4 separate regions of the Homo sapiens genome follow, and all the other regions are linked to region 4. The links are contacts of gene promoters, found by promoter capture Hi-C in blood cells and fetal thymus (Javierre and others, 2016). All regions are on one chromosome and are shown on one strand. Each heading gives the region's core, a stretch centred on a gene start or on the middle of the fragment in contact. The rest is flanking DNA. Distances are from core to core; before and after follow the strand shown. Region 1 overlaps AFG2B (AAA ATPase AFG2B). Region 2 overlaps FRMD5 (FERM domain containing 5). Region 3 overlaps WDR76 (WD repeat domain 76). Region 4 holds the start of CTDSPL2 (CTD small phosphatase like 2).

Region 1 (4,365 bases), core at 128-2,627, 980 kb before region 4:
GAGAGGGTCGAGGTGGGAAATTATAAAAACCAGTTTAGACATCCACAGAAGTCCAATTAAATAAGGACTGAAAAGCAATCATTGGATTTAGATGTTAGGATCACATTAGTGATAGGAGCAAGAGCAGTTTCAGCGCAGTATGTTGTCATCATAAATGCACAGAATGTTAATCTGTAATATCCTACTGGATTAAGTAGATTATCTGTCTTACCTGTTTTAACTTCAGTTTTACATCTTCAAGGCCACCAATCTCCTCCCAGTCAACAGGCTTGATATCCATTAATCCAATGACGCTTCGAAACGATGAGGGCTGAATATTTTTAAAAGCTTCAAGGAAGTCTATTTCATCAATCACAGGATTGTCCTGGTTCTGAAGAAATACACCCAAAAAAGCAAAATCAAACCAAAAATTAGGTTGGTCTTTTTTTATAGCACAATTTGTTTTTAAAATCTTCTTTTGGATTTGTAAAGTTATTTTGTTATCATTATAAAAACAATTTATATACATAGTACAAAGAATTAAATGTCTCCCTGCCAATTCCTGCCAGTAATTCTTCCCCGAAAGATGTCAAGAGTTTGTGTATTTTTCCAGTATGTTATGCTAGTAAGCATACATATATCCTTTTAAACAGATACACAAATGGAACCATACTATATCAGCCTGTACTTTTCTTCTTTCACCTATCTTAGAGAGCTTTTCATGTCAACTAACACAGTTCTACGTCATTCTTTTTGACAATTCCATAATACACTACTGAATTTACCCCAACTACACCTTTCTGACAAACGTTAGGTCATCCCCAGTCTTTAGATATTAAAAACAAAGCTGCAACTGAAAAAGTCTTTGTGCTCATGTTCAAGTATTTGTTTATTTTGAGACAGGGTCTCACTCTGTTACCCAGGCTGGAATGCAGTGATGTTATCATAGCTCACTGCAGTCTCCCAGGCTCAAGTAATCCTTGCACCTCACCCTCCGGAGTAGCTAGAACTACAGGTATGTGCCACCAGCCTGGCTAATTAAAAAAATATATATATTTTTTTTTTGTAGAGATGCGGTCTCCCTATGTTGCCCAGGCTGGTCTGGAACTCATGGGCTCGAGCGATCCTCCCACCTCAGCCTCCCAAAGTGCTGGGATTACAGGCATGAGCCACCATGTTCAAACTCATGTTCAAGTATTTTATGTAATAATTTCCTCAAAGTAGAATTACTGGGTTTACAAGTACACACATATACAATTTTGACAGCTATTACCAAATTGTCCTCTAAGGAAGCTGCAACAATTTATTCTTCTCCGATAATATGAAGCTGTGTTCTCTCCACACCTCTCCAGTACAGACATTATCAAACTCTTTTTTTTTTTTTTTTTGGCGGGGTCTCACTCTGTCACCCAGGTTGGAGTGCAGTGCTGTGATCTTGGCTCCCTGCAGCCTCCGCCTCCTGGGTTCAAATGATTCTCGTGCCTCAGCCTACCGAGTAGCTGGGATTTATAGGCATGAGCCACCACACCTGACTAATTTTTGTATTTTTAGCAGAGACGGGGTTTCCCCATGTTGGCCAGGCTGGTCTTGAACTCCTGACCTCAACTGACCCACCCATCTCAGCCTCCCAAAGTGCTGGGATTATAGGTGTGAGCCACCGCACGTGGCCCATTTCCAAACTCTTAAATGTCTGCCAATATGACAGGAAGAACCAGTACTCATTCATTACTGTGTTAACTAAATTTCTTCAATTCAAAATGAGGTAGAGGGAATATTGGAATTAAAAAAATCGCCCGTCTTGCAATCATGATAGTAAAGGCTGTTATGAGCAAGAATTGGATGCTATGTTGAGGGGAGTAAAAGTTTATTCATTTATGAGACAGGGTCTTGCTCTGCTGCCCAGGCTGGAGTGCAGTGGCATTGAGGCAACAGCTCATTGAGCCTCGAACACCTGGGCTCAAGTGATCATTCTATCTCAGCCTCCTGAGCAGCTGGGACTACAGGTGTAAGCCACTGTGCCCAGCCTGAAAGTTTGATGAGGAGCAGGATATCTCAAAGTGTCTCCCCACAGATTTCTCATTAGTGGCAAAGGGAAAAATAGCAGTTCCACAGTGGAGAAACTGCGCACTGCCTGAACTAGTTGATAAAAGTTAGCATCACCAATGAGGAACCAATGTACACTCTGTGCCTCTACATGTGAGGCTCTAAGGACACAACACTATACATCACCATACTGTGGTGACATATGGGAACATTTCTGTTCTTAGGAAATAGACATTAAAATGTTAAGGGATAAAGTGTCATGATATATGCAACCCATTCTCTCAAATAGTCCAAAATAAATAAATACTATGTGCATATAAATACATATATATGGAGATGACAGAGAGAGAGAGAAAGAGAAGAGGAGAGGGAGCAAGGAGAGCAAAAGAGAATGATAAAGCTTATTTGGCAAAAAGTTAAAAATTGGTGAATTTGGATAAAGGGTTTAGTGGAAGTTCTTTGTAACTATCTTGCAACTTTCCTATAAGTTTTAATTATTTCAAAATAAAGACAATAATTTTAGAAGAAATCAAGGTTGAACATCTTTCATGTTTATTGTCATTCCTTTTATTGTCAACTACCTGTTCATACCCCATTACCCATTTTCTCTTGGACTGTTGGTCTTTTCTTACTGATTTGTAAGATTTGTTCATTCCCTATCAAGGAAATTGGACTAAAAGTATTTTTCCTAGTCTGACTACTTTATAGTATTGTTTTGCCACCCCCAAATGGTCAACTCAGCAAATAATCTCTTTTTTGGCTATTAAGGTTTATGTTATGCCTAGAGAAGTCGTCTTCACTCTCAGGTTATATTTTGGAGACTCTTTACATTCTCCTTGATCATTCTAGTGAAACACATTTTTTTTTGTTAGTTAAAAAGTCCTGAAAATTTTATTAAAAATATCTGTACTGTATTTATTAAAGTATTTGCCCTCTTATATCCAATTCTAAACATCTAGTTGTCCACAAATTCCCGTTTTCAAAAACAAACTGTCTTTTCTTATTTGTAAACAGATGTTAAGTGAATCTGTATGTATAGAGCTATTCTGTAAAGTATTCTCCCAAAAGTGTTAACAATTGTCATCTCTGGAAAGTGAGATTTCAGGTAGGCAGTTCTTTATAATTTTCTATCTTCATTTCTCATGAATAACCCTATTATATACTTAAAAAAAAGCCTTTTTAACTGGCTGATAGTATGTTAGGTGTCTGATGTCCAAATATTAACTAATCTTTAGGTAACACGAACTAATATTTGAAAATCTCATTTATAGTTCAAGATCATGTGTGTACACATTATTTTACTTGATTCTTTGGGCTTATACATTCTTTCCCCTCTGTGTGTGTCTGAGTGTTAAACTACAGTTCTAATCCTTTAATAGGAATACTTCACAAAAAGTTTAACAAAGTGTAAGGTATCCCTTATCTGCCCTGGTACAGGGAGAGGTAGCAGCAGCCCCTCAGCTGGTGGGGGAAAGAATAAAAGATGGAGCCAGTACCTTCCCAGTTGTCTGTCCCTTCATGCTTTTTGCCTTTCTTCCTTCCACTTCCCCTGGGTTGTTTCTGAACTCAGCCATCACCTGTGGTAACTACACCTGAGCAGGCCCCTCCTGAAGTAGCAGTGGGCTCCACCCTGGGACGACAGCAGCTGACTGGTCCACCTAAGTGAGAGGTGCTTATGGTCAAACCTGGAACTTCAAAGCAGAGGAAATCCTGAATGTAAATCTCCCTTCCCATCTCCTGCTTACTTATTGTCTCCCTCAAAAGACATCTATTCTCACATCTTTACACACAGAACTTTAAAACTTCAAGTAGTTTTGGTCTAAACCTACAAGATGAAGACTTAAAAGATCAACTAGAAGATCACATAACTCCTCCCCACCTTCGGTGTAACTGTAGAAATAAAGGAAAGGAAGTGAGGCAAGGTATAAATTATTTAGGTAAAAAGGTTTTTCAAAATTTAGGATAATAAATCATTCTTTTGCAGTTTAAGATGAAAAGACAATTTTGATGTTACAAATGAGATTGAAAACTCTGTTTCAGAATCCTTAGCCTGCTGAAATCAGTTTTTTCCTGAATGGGTTTAAGGATTCAGGACTATTTATTATATACAAAATACTGGATTTTACAACCAACAAAGTTGAAAAGTATTATATTTAATCTAATATCTTAAATATTGTTAGGAAATAGTCATGAATTACAGACCTGCAGATCAAGGACAAATTTAAATACAATTCCAAGTGCCCAATCTTCTCCTAGGTTAGAAAAGCTTATTTCTCCCACTAGATACTTATTAATAACAAAGGGAAAAACGGTATCTTGACAATGGAGAAATCTCACAGACAC
Region 2 (4,349 bases), core at 915-3,414, 550 kb after region 4:
GGAAGAGTCTGATTAAGATTCACACCAGAGTCCGGGTCCAGCTCCGGCTGACTAATCACTGCTTTCGGCCCCTAAGTGTGCGCATCCTGAGGATGGGGCCCCGGCTCCAGGGTAGGGTCCTGACTGCTGTGACCCCCGGGCAAGGGAATCAGCTGGAGCATTTCCAAGGTAAAAAAGGCTCTCCTGTTTTGCTGTGCCAGTTAGCGCAGATCCTTCCCACGGCACCCATCCCATCTATCCCAAAATAACAGGTTCGATGAAATGGCAGGACAGGTGGTGGCTTTTACAGCAGTGAAAACAGTTTCTAATATAGGACTAACCTGATGTGGGAGGGTCACCTTACAGGTGAGATCTTCTGTTAAGGGAGGAGACCAACTGATATTTACTGAGCAACTGTATTTGTCAGGCATTCTACTAGAAATGCACATCTAATTGGATGTGGTGGCTCATGCCTGTAATCCCAGCACTTTGGGAGGCTGAGATGGGCAGATCACTTGAGGTCAGGAGCTCAGACCAGCCTGGCCAACATGGCGAAACCCCATCTCTACTAAAAATACAAAAATTAGCCGGGCATGGTGGTGGGCGCCTGTAATCCCAGCTACTCGCAGGGCTGAGGTGGGAGAATCACTTGAACCCGGGGGTCGGAGGCTGCAGTGAGCCGAGATTGCACCATTGCACTCCAGCCTGGGCAATGAGATGGAGTGAGATTCCATCTCAAAAAAAAAAAAAAAAAAGAAAAGAAAAAAAAAAAGAAATGCCTATCTATCCATTATCTTGTTTAATGAGAGCACCAACAGCTCCCAGTATGATGTGGCTCCAGGTGGTCCTCTGACATTTTCCTCTTCTGATGTCACAGCATCTGCCTCTCCTTCCCCACAAGCTGAGGGGTGTAATCGTAGGTTAAGCTAAGCTTTTCATACTTTGAAAGATCCTGCAGTCAGAGCTGTCTTCATGAAGGGGCAGGCCTTTGAAAGGGTGGCAGGCGCCCTATGCAATGGGGCTGAGGACTGCCTGGGAAAGGAGCCAAGCAAGCAATATGCTGCAACCAGGGCCTTAAGGTTTCTGCTTTATCAGTGACCCATAACCTGTCCCAAGGTACATATTCCTCAAGCTGCATGTGCAAATGGGGACATCAGGGAGGAATACTGTGGAAGAGAGATCAGAGGAACAGCAAGAGCTCTAGAACAAGGGACAGAGACTCTTAATTTCAGGTTATTTCAAAACAGTTTCTCGAGCAATTAAGACCTAAATCTAAGGTAGATGCTGGCTGTTGATTTAATCCGTCCTGGCCCATGGTTCCATTCCATGGAATCCGACTACAGTTAAGTCATCACTTAACAGCGTTGACAGGGTCTTTAGAAACTGCAACTTTAAGCAAAATGATGTACAATTAAACTTTTTTTTTTCTCATCAACATTATAACAAAATGGGGCTGGGCGTGGTGGCTCACATCTGTAATCCCAGCACAAAAACCTGTCTCTACAAAAAATACGAAAATTAGCTAGGCGTGGTGGCACATGCCTGTAGTCCCAGCTACTCAGGAGGCTGAGGTGGGAGGATCACCTGAGCCTGGGAGGTCGAGGCTGCAGTGAGCCGTGATTGTACCACTGCACTCCAGTCTAGGCAATGGAGTAAGACTGTCTCAAAAAACTAAAGAACTTTAAAAAAATTATAACAAAATGATGCTGAAGAAAACATTGGAGGACCTGCTGTAACATCATTTGGCTTAAAGTCATGGTTTCCAGGAACCTGTTGACAACATGAGGACTTAATAGATATGATCAGCAGGATCATGAACTAGAAAGCGGCTTGGATTCTATCCTTGGTTTTGCCATTAACTGCCAACCACATGACTTCAGATAACCTCTTGCCCTCACTACCTTGTGGAGTTACTGAAAGATAAAATCAAAGTGCTTTAAAAAGATGAAAGCATTATACAAATTTAAGATTTTAGCACAGGGACAAAAAATACAGCTAAGACTATGAGGAGCTTCTGAAAGCAGAGATTGAGAGCTGTGGCAAATATATGAGCCGTGACGCAATGGGGAGCGTAACTAGATGGCAGGTGCCCTGCCTTTGCCCCCACCCTCTCTCCCCATTGTCCTACTCATTCATAACCCAGATTCCAGGGCTCATTCCTCTGGAGAATCCTTAACTGTGCCTGTGCCAAGACAGGCTCCACAAGGCTGGTCAGGCAGGCTGCCTGGGTGCAAACGGCCAAGCCATGAGGGAGCCAAGGAAGATGGGACACACTGCTTCTGAAAGGTTACTAACACCTTTTTAAGAGAGACCTTTGGACTGCTTCATGTCCTGGAAGAAGGGGAAAAAAGAGACCCTTTGGGCTTCTGGAGCTAGCCCTGAACCAAAAAACTCCCTAATCAACCTGACTTAGGTAAAACCTTTACTGAGCTGGGAATCTGGTTCAGTCTGGGATTGTCAGGGACTATTTCAGGGCAACAGAAGGGGACTGGCTTTTCTTGTCATAGGTCACAAAGGCAGAGAGAACCACACCAGCATCACCAAGATGGCCAGGAGTGGAAAATGCAGACATTGAGCCTAAAACAAGAAGCCATTTCCTTGGGAGCACTGTGATGGGGGCCGCGCTCACTCACTATATGCCCAAAGCCTCTGGCCTGGGTGGCTGCTGTTCAGTTGAGAGTGTAACCAGCTCCTGTTTTCCCTGCCAGGGCTTGAGTCCTGTGAGAACCTTGGGAAGAGAGAAGAGATAATGGGTAGTTTTAGGGGATAGAATACCCCTTCCTCCTACCAAATGTAAGAGAAATCCACCCCCGCAACAAGATCTTCTCAAACTGTTTTGTGCTCTGAAGTGTCTAAAGATAGGGGAGCTTTTCAGCCTATTCTAGACCCAGCTCCTTCTCAGAGGAAAAGAGAGGGAGCTGGCCAGGGACTACTCCCATGCCCCCTCAAGAAGAGCAGAGAGAGTTTCTACCCCATCATTCCACAAAGTCAGAACAGCTAGAACGGAGGCTGAAGAGACTGAGAGCAGCTGCAGAAATCCAAAAATATTGACCTTATAAGCTCAAGATGCTGTATGCTGGGTTTTTACAAGGATATTCGGTATTTGATGAAACCCAGTTAGGCATGACATATTCCCCTTCTCCCCATTCCTACCTCTCTTTTATTAAAAATTTTATAGTTACAGTGTCTATGTTGCCCAGCCTGGTCTTGAACCCTTTGGCTCAAGTGATCCACCTGCCTTGGCCTCCCAAAGTGCTGGGATTACAGATGGGAGCCATCGTGTCTGGCCCATTCCTGCCTCTTAAAGCCCTCCACCCAACAGGCAGACTTGAGACTCAAACCGTGGTCCCAGCTCTGCATCAGGGGTAGTTTGGAATTCAGATTCTTTCAAACTGGGGTAAAAACCAGGCCCAGAGTTCAGAGTTCAACAACAAGCTTCCAAGATGCCGCCCAAAGGAAAAAGTGGTTCTGGAAAAGCGGGGAAAGGGGGTGCAGCCTCTGGGAGTGACAGTGCTGACAAGAAGGCTCAAGGTCCCAAAGGTGGTGGCAATGCAGTAAAGGTCAGACACATTCTATGGGAAAAACATGGCAAAATCATGGAAGCCATGGAAAAGTTAAAGTCTGGGATGAGATTCAATGAAGTGGCCACACAATATAGTGAAGATAAAGCCAGGCAAGGGGGCGTCTTGGGTTGGATGACCAGAGGGTCCATGGTGGGACCATTTCAAGAAGCAGCATTTGCCTTGCCTATAAGTGTGATGGATAAGCCTGTGTTTACAGACCCAGCAGTTAAGACAAAATTTGGATATCATATTATTATGGTTGAAGGAAGAAAATAAAATCATATGAAAGACTGAAAGAAAAAAAAAAAAAAAAAAAAAAACTAGGCCCAGGACACCAAAGGCAAGAAAGGCAGAATCTTTAACAAATTAGGGGCTGGGTGCGGTGGCTCACACCTATAATCCCAGCACTTTGGGAGGCCAGGAGTTCTAGACCAGCCTGGCCAAAATGGCAAAACCCCGTCTCTACTCAAAATAAAAAAATTAGCTGGGTGTGGTGGCAGACACCTGTATTCCCAGCTACTCAGAAGGCTGAGACACAAGAATCGCTGGAACCCGGGAGGCAGAAGTTGTAGTGAGCTGAGATTGCACCACTGCATTCCAACCTGGGCGACAGAGTAAGACTCCATCTCAAAACACACACAAACTAGGCCAAAACCGTAAGCAAAAAGCAAAGAAAAACTCTTCTAAAATGGCCACTGTGATTTCTGTGCCTTCTCTTGTTTCATACATACATATATATATATATATATATATATATATATTTTTTTTTTTTTTTTGAGACAGTCTTTCTCTGTTGCTCAGGTTGGA
Region 3 (4,138 bases), core at 772-3,271, 580 kb after region 4:
CTCATTGTCAAAGCTATTCTCTCAACTCACTACATGGTACCCTATTTTCAAAATCAATGGCCTTTTCTCCATTCTTTTAACTTCTCTGCAAAAGGCTCTGTCAACCTCCCATCCTTGAAACTCATCTCTTGGCTTCCAAAACATACTATTCTGATCTTCTTCCCACTTTTTTGCTTCAGTTTTCTTTGCTAAATCCTATCACCTCCTATCCCCACTCACATCTTATCAAAATAAGGGAGAATCTATGATCCCAAAATAAGAACTTGGTTTCTGTCTTCAAACTTGCAAATTTTGTTTATAAACCCCAACCAACTTCAAGTCACCACTATTTCTTCACCTTCATTAATTGTCCTTATGGCATTTTTCATGTCTTTGGTCTTCTTCCCCAATAAGAAAATAAATTCAGAGAACATTAACTTGACTTTTCTCAATTTTGTAATAACAGACAGTATTTCATGCAGAATTATATGCACAATGAATGGAATTCAGTATCTATTTCTGACTCATCAAAGATAACTAAAATCATTCCAAAGCAGGTCCCTGGGAAGATATTTTGATACAGCTTAGAAACTGTTTCTTAGTCCATTTGGGATGCTAAAACAACATACCATAAACTGAGTGGCTTATCAACAGCAGCATTTTATTTCTCACAGTCCTGGTGACTAGGAAGACCAAGATCAAGCTTCCAGTTCATTCAGTGTCTGGTAAGGGCCTACTTTCTGGTTCATAGTTGGTGCCTTCTAGCTGTGTCCTCATATGGTAGAAGGGACAGTGGTCTCTCCTGGGTTTCTTTTATAAGGGCACTAATCTTATTCATGACCTAATCACCTCCCAAAGGTCCTACCTCCTAATACCATAGGGATTAGTATTTCAACATATGAATTTTGGGGAAGACAAAAACATTCAGACCATAGCAGACCATATTTTAAACACAACTAGAAAACTAAACTTCGGGCTGGGCGCCGTGGCTCATGCCTGTAATCCCAGCACTTTGGGAGGCCAAGGCAGGCAGATCACGAGGTCAGGAGATCAAGACCATGGGGAAACCCCACCTCTACTAAAAATAGAAAAAATTAGCCAGGCATGGTGGCAGGCGCCTGTAGTCCCAGCTACTCGGGAGGTTGAGGCAAGAGAATGGCGTGAACCTGAGAGGCGGAGCTTGCAGTGAGCCGAGATCACACCACTGCACTCCAGCCTGGGCGACAGAGCAAGACTCCCTCTCCAAAAAAAGAAAACTAAACTTTGATCTTTTTTTTTTTTTTTTTTTTTTTTTTTACACAGAGTCTCGCTCTGTCGCCCAGGCTGGAGTGCAGTGGTGCGATCTCGGCTCACTGCAAGCTCCCCCTCCCAGGTTCACGCCATTCTCCTGCTTCAGCCTCCCGAGTAGCTGGGACTACAGGCACCTGCCACCACGCCTAGCTAATTTGTTCCATTTTTAGTAGCGATGGGGTTTTTTAGTAGAGACGCGGTTTCACTGTGTTAGCCAGGACGGTCTCGATCTCCTGACTTCGTGATCCACCCGCCTCGGCCTCCCAAAGTGCTGGGATTACAGGCGTGAGCCACCGCTCCCAGCCCTTTTTTTTTTTTTGAGACGGAGTCTTACTCTATCACCCAGGCTGGATGGCACAGTGTCGACTCACTCCAACCTCCGTCTCCTGGGTTCAAGCAATTCTCCTGCCTCAGCCTCCTGAGTAGCTGGGATTACAGGCACCTACCACCACGCCCAGCTAATTTTTGTATTTTTTTACTACAGACGGGGTTTCACCATGTTGGCCAGGCTGGTCTCGAACTCCTGACCTCAGGTGATCCGACCGCCTCAGCCTCTCAAAGTGCTGGCATTACAGGCGTGACCCACCGCACCCGGCCACTTTAAATGTATATGTGAAAAGATCACACAAAGTGTAACAAAGTTTTCTGGCAGTTAATTTATGACCAGATGGTTAATGATATTCAAGCTAAAAATATTAAAGTTCTATAAAGCAAATTTAAATTCTTCCAGATTTCTAAAATTTGGAATCATAAAGCATCATAAAGCCCAAAATTGTAAGTCTCACGCAACATTTATAAACACATGGCTCTAGCCTATTCTCTTCCAGCCTATTTGCTTTAGTCAAACTATAATATATTCAAGAAATTTAATAACTTACCAAATCACAAAGTCCAACTTGCCCAAATTTGGCCCCAACTGCTACCAAAGTTCTAGTTTCTGATGGATGGAGAGCCATAGAGAATATTGGGCCTGTGGTAACTTTGTAAACGGTATCTTCACTAATGACCATGCCATTTAAATTGGCTTTGTAGCTAAGAAAATTACAAAGTTAAATTTTGTAAGTAAAACCAATCTCAATAGTCAAAATAAGTAAAAGATTATTCAAAAAGAAAAATCACAATTAGCAAATAAATATGGGAACTATTCAATCTCCTGGTAACCAAGGAAATCAAATTAAGCAATATTCTTTCACTTTTTAAATTACCCTTGATAATTTTAATAACACCAAAAGCTGGTAGGCTGCAGTTAAATACACATACTCACACATATTGCTAGTGGAAGAGTAAGTTCATATAAAATGTTCAGAAGAAAAAAAAAGACCTTTGAGCAACAATTCGGCAATGTGTACTAAAAGCCATAAAAATGTTCACAATATTTGATGCATTAATCTCACTTCTGGAAATCTAACCTAAAGAAATAATCCACTATCATATCCATATACTTCAACAAACACATACACAAACACACAAAGCTAAATGGAAAACAACCGCAAATACCAAGCAGGTAGGAGGAGAAGTGAACTCCTTCTACTCAATGGAATATTTTATAATTATTCAATAATTTTAAAGACTCTAGTAACATGCAACCGCAAATGAAAAAAAACATAACGCAGGCCAGGCACACTGGCTCACACCTGTAATCCCAGCACTTTGGGAGTCCAAGGCAGACAGCTCACTTGAGCCCAGGTATTCAAGACCAACCTGGGCAACACAGCAAAATCTCATCTCTACAAATACAAAAATTAGTGAGATGTGATGGTGCACGCCTGTAGTCCAAGCTACTTGGGAGGCTGAGGTGGGAGGATCATTTGAGCCCAGGAAGCGAAGGTTGCAATGAGCCAAGATAGTGCCACTGCACTGCAGCCTAAGCGATAGAGGGAGACCTTGTCTCAAAAAACAAAAAAAAAAAAAAAAAAAAAGAAAAAGAAAAAAGTGTAATGCAAAATTGTATATACATTACAACATATAGTAAAAATGTATGTGGATTCACTCATTTATTCAACACTGAACATATATTATGTGCCAGGCACTGTTCTGGTTATTGAAATAGAATTCTTGCTTATATCCTAGTGGTATTGTATATGAAGCTTATATCCTAGTGGTATTGTATATGGCAACACTTGTGAGGAAATACACAAAAACAACAGTTGTTAGGGTGGAAACATTTCATCTCACTTTCAAAATTCCCTAAAATGGCGTATAGTCTTTATAACTCAAACATCTCAAAAAATATAAAAGAAACACAAGGAATTTCAACTTACCTTTTAATGCTAGATAATCCCTTCTCAGTGTTCTTACTACTTGGCTGAAACATTGGGAGAGATGAAAGAACTAAGTTAGTATGTATATATTTTTACATATATATATATTTCCTTAACAGATGATTCTAAAGGCTATTGGCCTTCCCAAGTGATACCTTGCTCATTCCTGCCCATGTGTGCAGAAATCCTTTAAATCGTTCATTGTTGTCTTCTTGATTTTCAGAAGTCATTTCTAAAGGCCCAGGAGGTAACAAAGGCTGTTATAAAAAATAAAAAGTTATTTGTTGGGCTCCCTGCCCTAGAATATAAACACAAGGAGGGCAAGGGTATTTGTCTGTTTTCCCCACAACTTCACTTTCAACATCAACAGTAATGGTGGCATATCATGGACATTCAAAATAATTGTTCAATAAATGAATGCCAGGTACCCTATAAAGTAATAATAACATGTATTATCTCATTTAATCCTCTCAACAACCTAGCAAATGAGGTATCACATTTTAAAGACAGTGGATTGAAACTTAGAGACTGTAATCCCAGCACTTTGGCAGGCCGAGGCAGGCGGATCACAAGGTCAGGAGTTCGAGACCAGCCTGGCCAATATGGTG
Region 4 (4,847 bases), core at 1,421-3,920:
GACCCCCATCTCTAAAAAATAAAAATAAAAATAAATGCCATTTTACTCAACTGACAATAAAATCTATAGCTACAAATCCAGAATCTAGTACATCCTTGGTGAACAACAGGTCCAAGTTTCTTTAACCAGAATTAGATGGACTCTGTTATATAATAATCTCATGAAAAACCACTTAAGCAGAAATCACAAACTTGAGATCAGCTAGATGAATCTGAAAAGAAAAGACTTCCCCAATTCTTAATTTCTTAACAGTGGGAAAACAGTAACATTACCAGCTCAAGTTAAATGCACAAGAGACACTATGTAGAATGGAATCTTGTGAAACATACAAACCCTGACATTCCTATGCAATCCTATTTAGATTTTCTATATAGCTACAAGTCCACAAAGGTTAAGGACTACATCATTTATAGCTTTTACATTCTTTTTTTTTGAGACGGAGTCTCGCTCTGTCACCAGGCTGGAGTACAGTGGGGTGGTCTTCAGCTCACTGCAGCCTCCGCCTCCTGGGTTCAAGCGATTCTCCTGTCTCAGCCTCCCGAGTAGCTGGGACTACAGGTGTGCACCACCATGCCCGGCTAATTTTTGTATTTTTAGTAGAGATGGAGTTTCACTATGTTGGCCAGGCTGTTCTCGAACTCCTGATCTTGTGATCCGCCTGCCTTGGCCTCCCAAAGTGCTGGGATTACAGGCGTGAGCCACCCCACCCAGCCAGCTTATACGTTCTTTCAACTCTGAGAAAGCATTAAAAGAGTGCAAGTACTGAATGCACGTAGTACTAAACAATTTAGGAGAACTCTTGAAAACAAGGTCTACAATGCTCACTCAGCTAGCTGCAAACTAATTTTTATTAAAAACATTAACGCTATTAACTACCCAAAAAGGTCATTAAAATACAGACAAAACCTACACACTAGACCAATGATTTAAGATCCCTTTAAGTTGCATATTTGGCTCCATTTTTTAAATAAACTGACTCGGCAAGTAGTTAACGTGCCTGTACCTCCACTATTCTATTCGCCTTAGGAAAGTATGAAGCTCAACTTAATCCTAAAAAACTCCTTCACATAAGAGCTACCTTTTGCCTTGACTTTCTTTATGACCTTGGGCAAAGTCTACCAAATGAGGATTATAATAATGTTTGTGTGTTCCTGTTTATTATTGAAAATTAACCATAACATCGTGCAAACAATAGTGAAATTCTCTAAACTGGACCTATCCAGAACTGAAAACCTGAGTTATAAATATCAACTGATATTCAATGTGAACAGTTTTTAAAATTTTAATTTGATTAGTGAAAACAAAAAAACCTACAAAGATCCCAAATTCAACATGATTAATAAATTCCGAAAACACCAACAGCCTCCTTATTACTTCTCTTTATGAACAATTGGTCTGCAATGTAATTTAAAAAAAAGGAAAGAAAAAGTAAAGAAATATAGTAAAACTAGCTTTAACACGCCATTTCCCTTTTCTAAGAATAAAAAATGGACCAGGAACGAAAATTTAAAACTGGGCGAAGAATGGGGAGACAAAGCAATCTACAATTTGAAAATTACACAGATAAATCCATCATTTCAAGTCACTAATTTGTATACCCACTGAAGAAATTCATCTTGGTACTGCGTTACCAGCATTAGGAAGATAAATCCCTGCCTCGGAGGAACATCTACTGAGTACGTTTCATTTCAGGATCTCAGGTAAGTTTACGAGCTCTTAGATCTCTTTAGGTTTCCCTAAGGTACGCTGAAGTGTTTAACATCATTCACACATCCAGCCACCACTAGGGTGAGAAGTAAATAAACAAGATTTACTTATGCAATTATTTACCACAGAACTCTGGTCAAGAATGCAAAAGTAAACACCCATACAGACATTTAAAATCCAAAGAAAGCAGAGAATATTAAGGATAATAAGGTTCACTCTTTAACTGACCACTGTGGAAACCAGACGCCTTCCACATGGACTGTTCTTTACTACCACTCCCGATTTGAAAAAGTAACAATGTCAACTCGAGATTTTAACAGTACAAAAGATAAACAGAACTTAGTCAAATCCCTTCTTCCAGATTCTGAAAAGGTGTTTATAAGAACTGAGATAAGAGCAACGCCCCCCTAAAAGCACCCTACTCCAAAGAATGAAATGCTGAAAACATGAGGTGGGCCAAAAAGGTTAAAAAAAGCTAAACTTCTAACTTAATTACCCAGAGGTTGGGGACTAGGAACTTGAGATCGGAGTGGGGGTGGGTAGCAAAGTGAAATCTAACCCCAGAAATCACAACGCAGGCCGCAACCTAAGAGGTGAAGCTGGCGGGAAGTGAGCTCCCTTTCTGTTCCCAGGGGAAAGTCCAGACAGGAGCGGCTCCGCACAGTGGACGTACGAGGCGCCAAAGAGTGCATGCCTACCAAGGCGCCAGAGCCGCTGGAGGACCAGGTTTAGAAGGGGAGGAGATCCCGGCAGACGGCCCTGGAAGAGGAGGAGGACTGAGATTGGAAGCAGCGGCGGCGTCTGGACGAAGGGGATTACCTAACTGTGACGACAGAGAAGTGTCCTCAGGCTCCGGCGATGGTCCCGACTGCGCAATGTGTGGTGTCTTTCCCGCTTACCCCGCAGCAGCAACAGAACCAGCTCCTTCAGCCAGTCGCCATTTCCCGCCTACCGACCTGCTGCACCGCACGGACAGGGACCCGGATGGAAAGCGGCCTCTCCGCGCAGGCGCCCTGACTTCCTCCTCCCCCTCCCGCCACAATTCCGCGAGGTGGGAGGGAAGGAATGCGGGCAGCCACAACGGCAACAACAACCAAAAAAACACTTTTACTTCCGTGAAGAGCGTTGAAGTTCCTTACGCCGGAAGAAACTCTCTAGTCTGAATCCTGGAGAAAAACTGAACACAAGGCCTTAGTACTGGGTCGATTAAGAAAGGACAAAACCTATCAGGATGAGCAAGGGCCTGGGGGATATTTGTACATTAGGGGCCTCCGTAGCCGGCTGTGTAGTGGTCGCAGGGGGAGTAGGGAGTAAAGCGTTAGGAGTGGAGAGGCGGGGACCCGAAGGACGGTTTTTCCTCCCGCTCCTAACGGAACTGCTTGGGCAGAGCTGGGAGGGGGAGCGCGCCCTTGCCCCGGAGGCGGGGCTTAGGAACGCGTAGTGCACCCTGGCGGCTAGGGTTTAGTAACTGTGGGCGCGCTGGGTAGGTGGAGCTGAGGGGATAAGGCGGGACTAACGGCTTGGCGCGCTGGAGGAGGTAGTTCGTAGGGAGAGCTGCCTGAGGCCGGGAGAAAGCGAATCTGGCGCCTTTCCTGGGATTTCGGTGGCCCTTGAAGGTTCCCTTTCCAGCTCATTGCCTAGAGGGCGTAGCAGTCGCTTTTGGATCATAAATATTCATGCCCTTCGACTCAACCCTATGTTGGCGGTGATTCTGCAGGTTGAAAACTCGGATCTTTCAGGCCAGTGGGCTCCCACCTGCGACCCTAGGTCAAAGGACGGTCAGCTCCACAGAGTGAAAATGTATCAGTCCAGAGAATCCAGTTCTAGTGGGGTATCGGAAAACCAAGCCTAGTGTTTGGAAGAACATTTTTCACTGAAACTCCAAGCCACTCTCCTTATTCAATCAAGAAATATTTATTGAAAAAATAACTAGGTGCGACGGGTAAAACAGTGAGCCAGGCAGACACGGATACTGCCTTCCCCAAAGGTAATGATTTTTTTTTTTTTTCGAGACGGAGTCTTCACTCTGTCGCCCAGGATGGAGTGCAGTGGCGCGATCTCGGCTCAAACCTCCACCTCCCGGGTTCAAGCGATTCTTCTGCCTCAGCCCCCCGAGAAGCTGGGATTACAGGCGCGCGCCACCACGACCGGCTAATTTTTGTATTTTTAGTAGAGACGGGGTTTCACCACGTTGGTCAGGCTGGTCTCGTACTCCTGACCTCGTGATCCGCCCGCTTCGGCCTCCCAAAGTGCTGGTATTACAGGCGTGAGCCACCGCGCCCGGCCAAAGATCATAATCTATTGAAGAAGACACCCAAGTAAACAGAATTTAAAAACTGATAAAGCGAATACAAGGATGGCATGATAGGCGTTGTAAAACACATGAGAGTGCCGGCGAGGGGGTCTGGGAAGGTTTCGTAAGATAACATCTGAGACAAAAAGGAGGAGTGTGTGTTGCAGGGGAAGAGTGTCTGGGTAAAGGAAACAACAGACGGAAAAGTCCAAAGATGAGACTGTGTTGAGCCATTGGAGAAGTAGTTCTGTGCGCTAAGAAAAGAGGATGGGAGGGCAGGGGGAAGATGGCAAGAGAGGCTGAGAAGTAAGCAGAAATAACATACCGTTGTGAATCTCATTATTTCGAAGTATGGAGCAGGTGGGTTGTCTTCTGAAAACCTTGTATACTACAGATTCTTCTGTCAGAGTTCATTTGCACCCTAAATCTTCCTAGTGCAAAAATGCTCTGAATGCGACATTTATTGGGAGCTGGTGGTATACACAGCACAGAACTATTAATAGTAACAGTCCACACACACAAAAATAGATTCCTGAAAAGTTCAATGGAATCCAACAAATAATTAGTTTATCCAGAGTGTATCATGGAAAGCAGTAAAATACCAACTAAACAGTTACCCCATTATTACTAAAGTTTATTTTATTTATTTATTTATTTTTAGAGACAGGGTCTCACTCCATTCCCCAGGCTGAAGTAATTAAAGCTCATTGCAACCTCAAAATCCATGGTTCAAGCCATCTTCCTGCCTTGGCCTCCCAAAGTGCTGGGATTACGGGCCTGAGCTACTGCACACAGCCCCTAAAGTTTTGTTTTGCTTTTTGTTTAGAGACAAGGACTTCCTCTGTAC

The links. The method cuts DNA at HindIII sites, captures the fragments that hold promoters and counts their contacts. A CHiCAGO score of 5 or more calls a contact.
Region 1: a fragment that was not itself captured here is called in contact with the fragment with the promoter of CTDSPL2 in region 4 in 1 of 17 cell types (neutrophils); the score reaches 5.7 in neutrophils.
Region 2: a fragment that was not itself captured here is called in contact with the fragment with the promoter of CTDSPL2 in region 4 in 1 of 17 cell types (endothelial precursors); the score reaches 5.6 in endothelial precursors.
Region 3: a contact is called between a fragment that was not itself captured here and the fragment with the promoter of CTDSPL2 in region 4, in 2 of 17 cell types (erythroblasts and endothelial precursors). The highest score is 6.3, in erythroblasts.

What each region holds. Positions count from the first base shown.
Region 1 is chr15:45,406,377-45,410,741 of GRCh38, reverse strand. AFG2B (AAA ATPase AFG2B) reads right to left here. Exons shown (of 8, transcript NM_024063.3): 3 at 212-370. Among named protein-coding and RNA genes, the nearest start is that of AFG2B, 6.2 kb to the right of the region's middle. The HindIII fragment of the contact is 2,095 bases long and covers 330-2,424 here.
Region 2 is chr15:43,875,318-43,879,666 of GRCh38, reverse strand. All of the region lies in intron 13 of FRMD5 (FERM domain containing 5), which reads left to right. It also overlaps the pseudogene PIN4P1. Among named protein-coding and RNA genes, the nearest start is that of WDR76, 50 kb to the right of the region's middle. RefSeq lists an enhancer at 1-618. The HindIII fragment of the contact is 2,504 bases long and covers 913-3,416 here.
Region 3 is chr15:43,842,064-43,846,201 of GRCh38, reverse strand. WDR76 (WD repeat domain 76) reads right to left here. Exons shown (of 13, transcript NM_024908.4): 6 at 3,686-3,787; 7 at 3,531-3,574; 8 at 2,148-2,301. Among named protein-coding and RNA genes, the nearest start is that of WDR76, 17 kb to the right of the region's middle. The HindIII fragment of the contact is 2,674 bases long and covers 685-3,358 here.
Region 4 is chr15:44,425,452-44,430,298 of GRCh38, reverse strand. CTDSPL2 (CTD small phosphatase like 2) reads right to left here and starts at 2,670. Exons shown (of 13, transcript NM_016396.3): 1 at 2,527-2,670. It overlaps LOC124903479 (a long non-coding RNA gene), which reads right to left. Exons shown (of 3, transcript XR_007064605.1): 2 at 4,326-4,532; 3 at 3,982-4,005. RefSeq lists enhancers at 1,946-2,552, 2,617-2,996, 2,553-3,160, 3,277-3,506, 3,161-3,768. The HindIII fragment of the contact is 7,080 bases long and covers 1-4,847 here.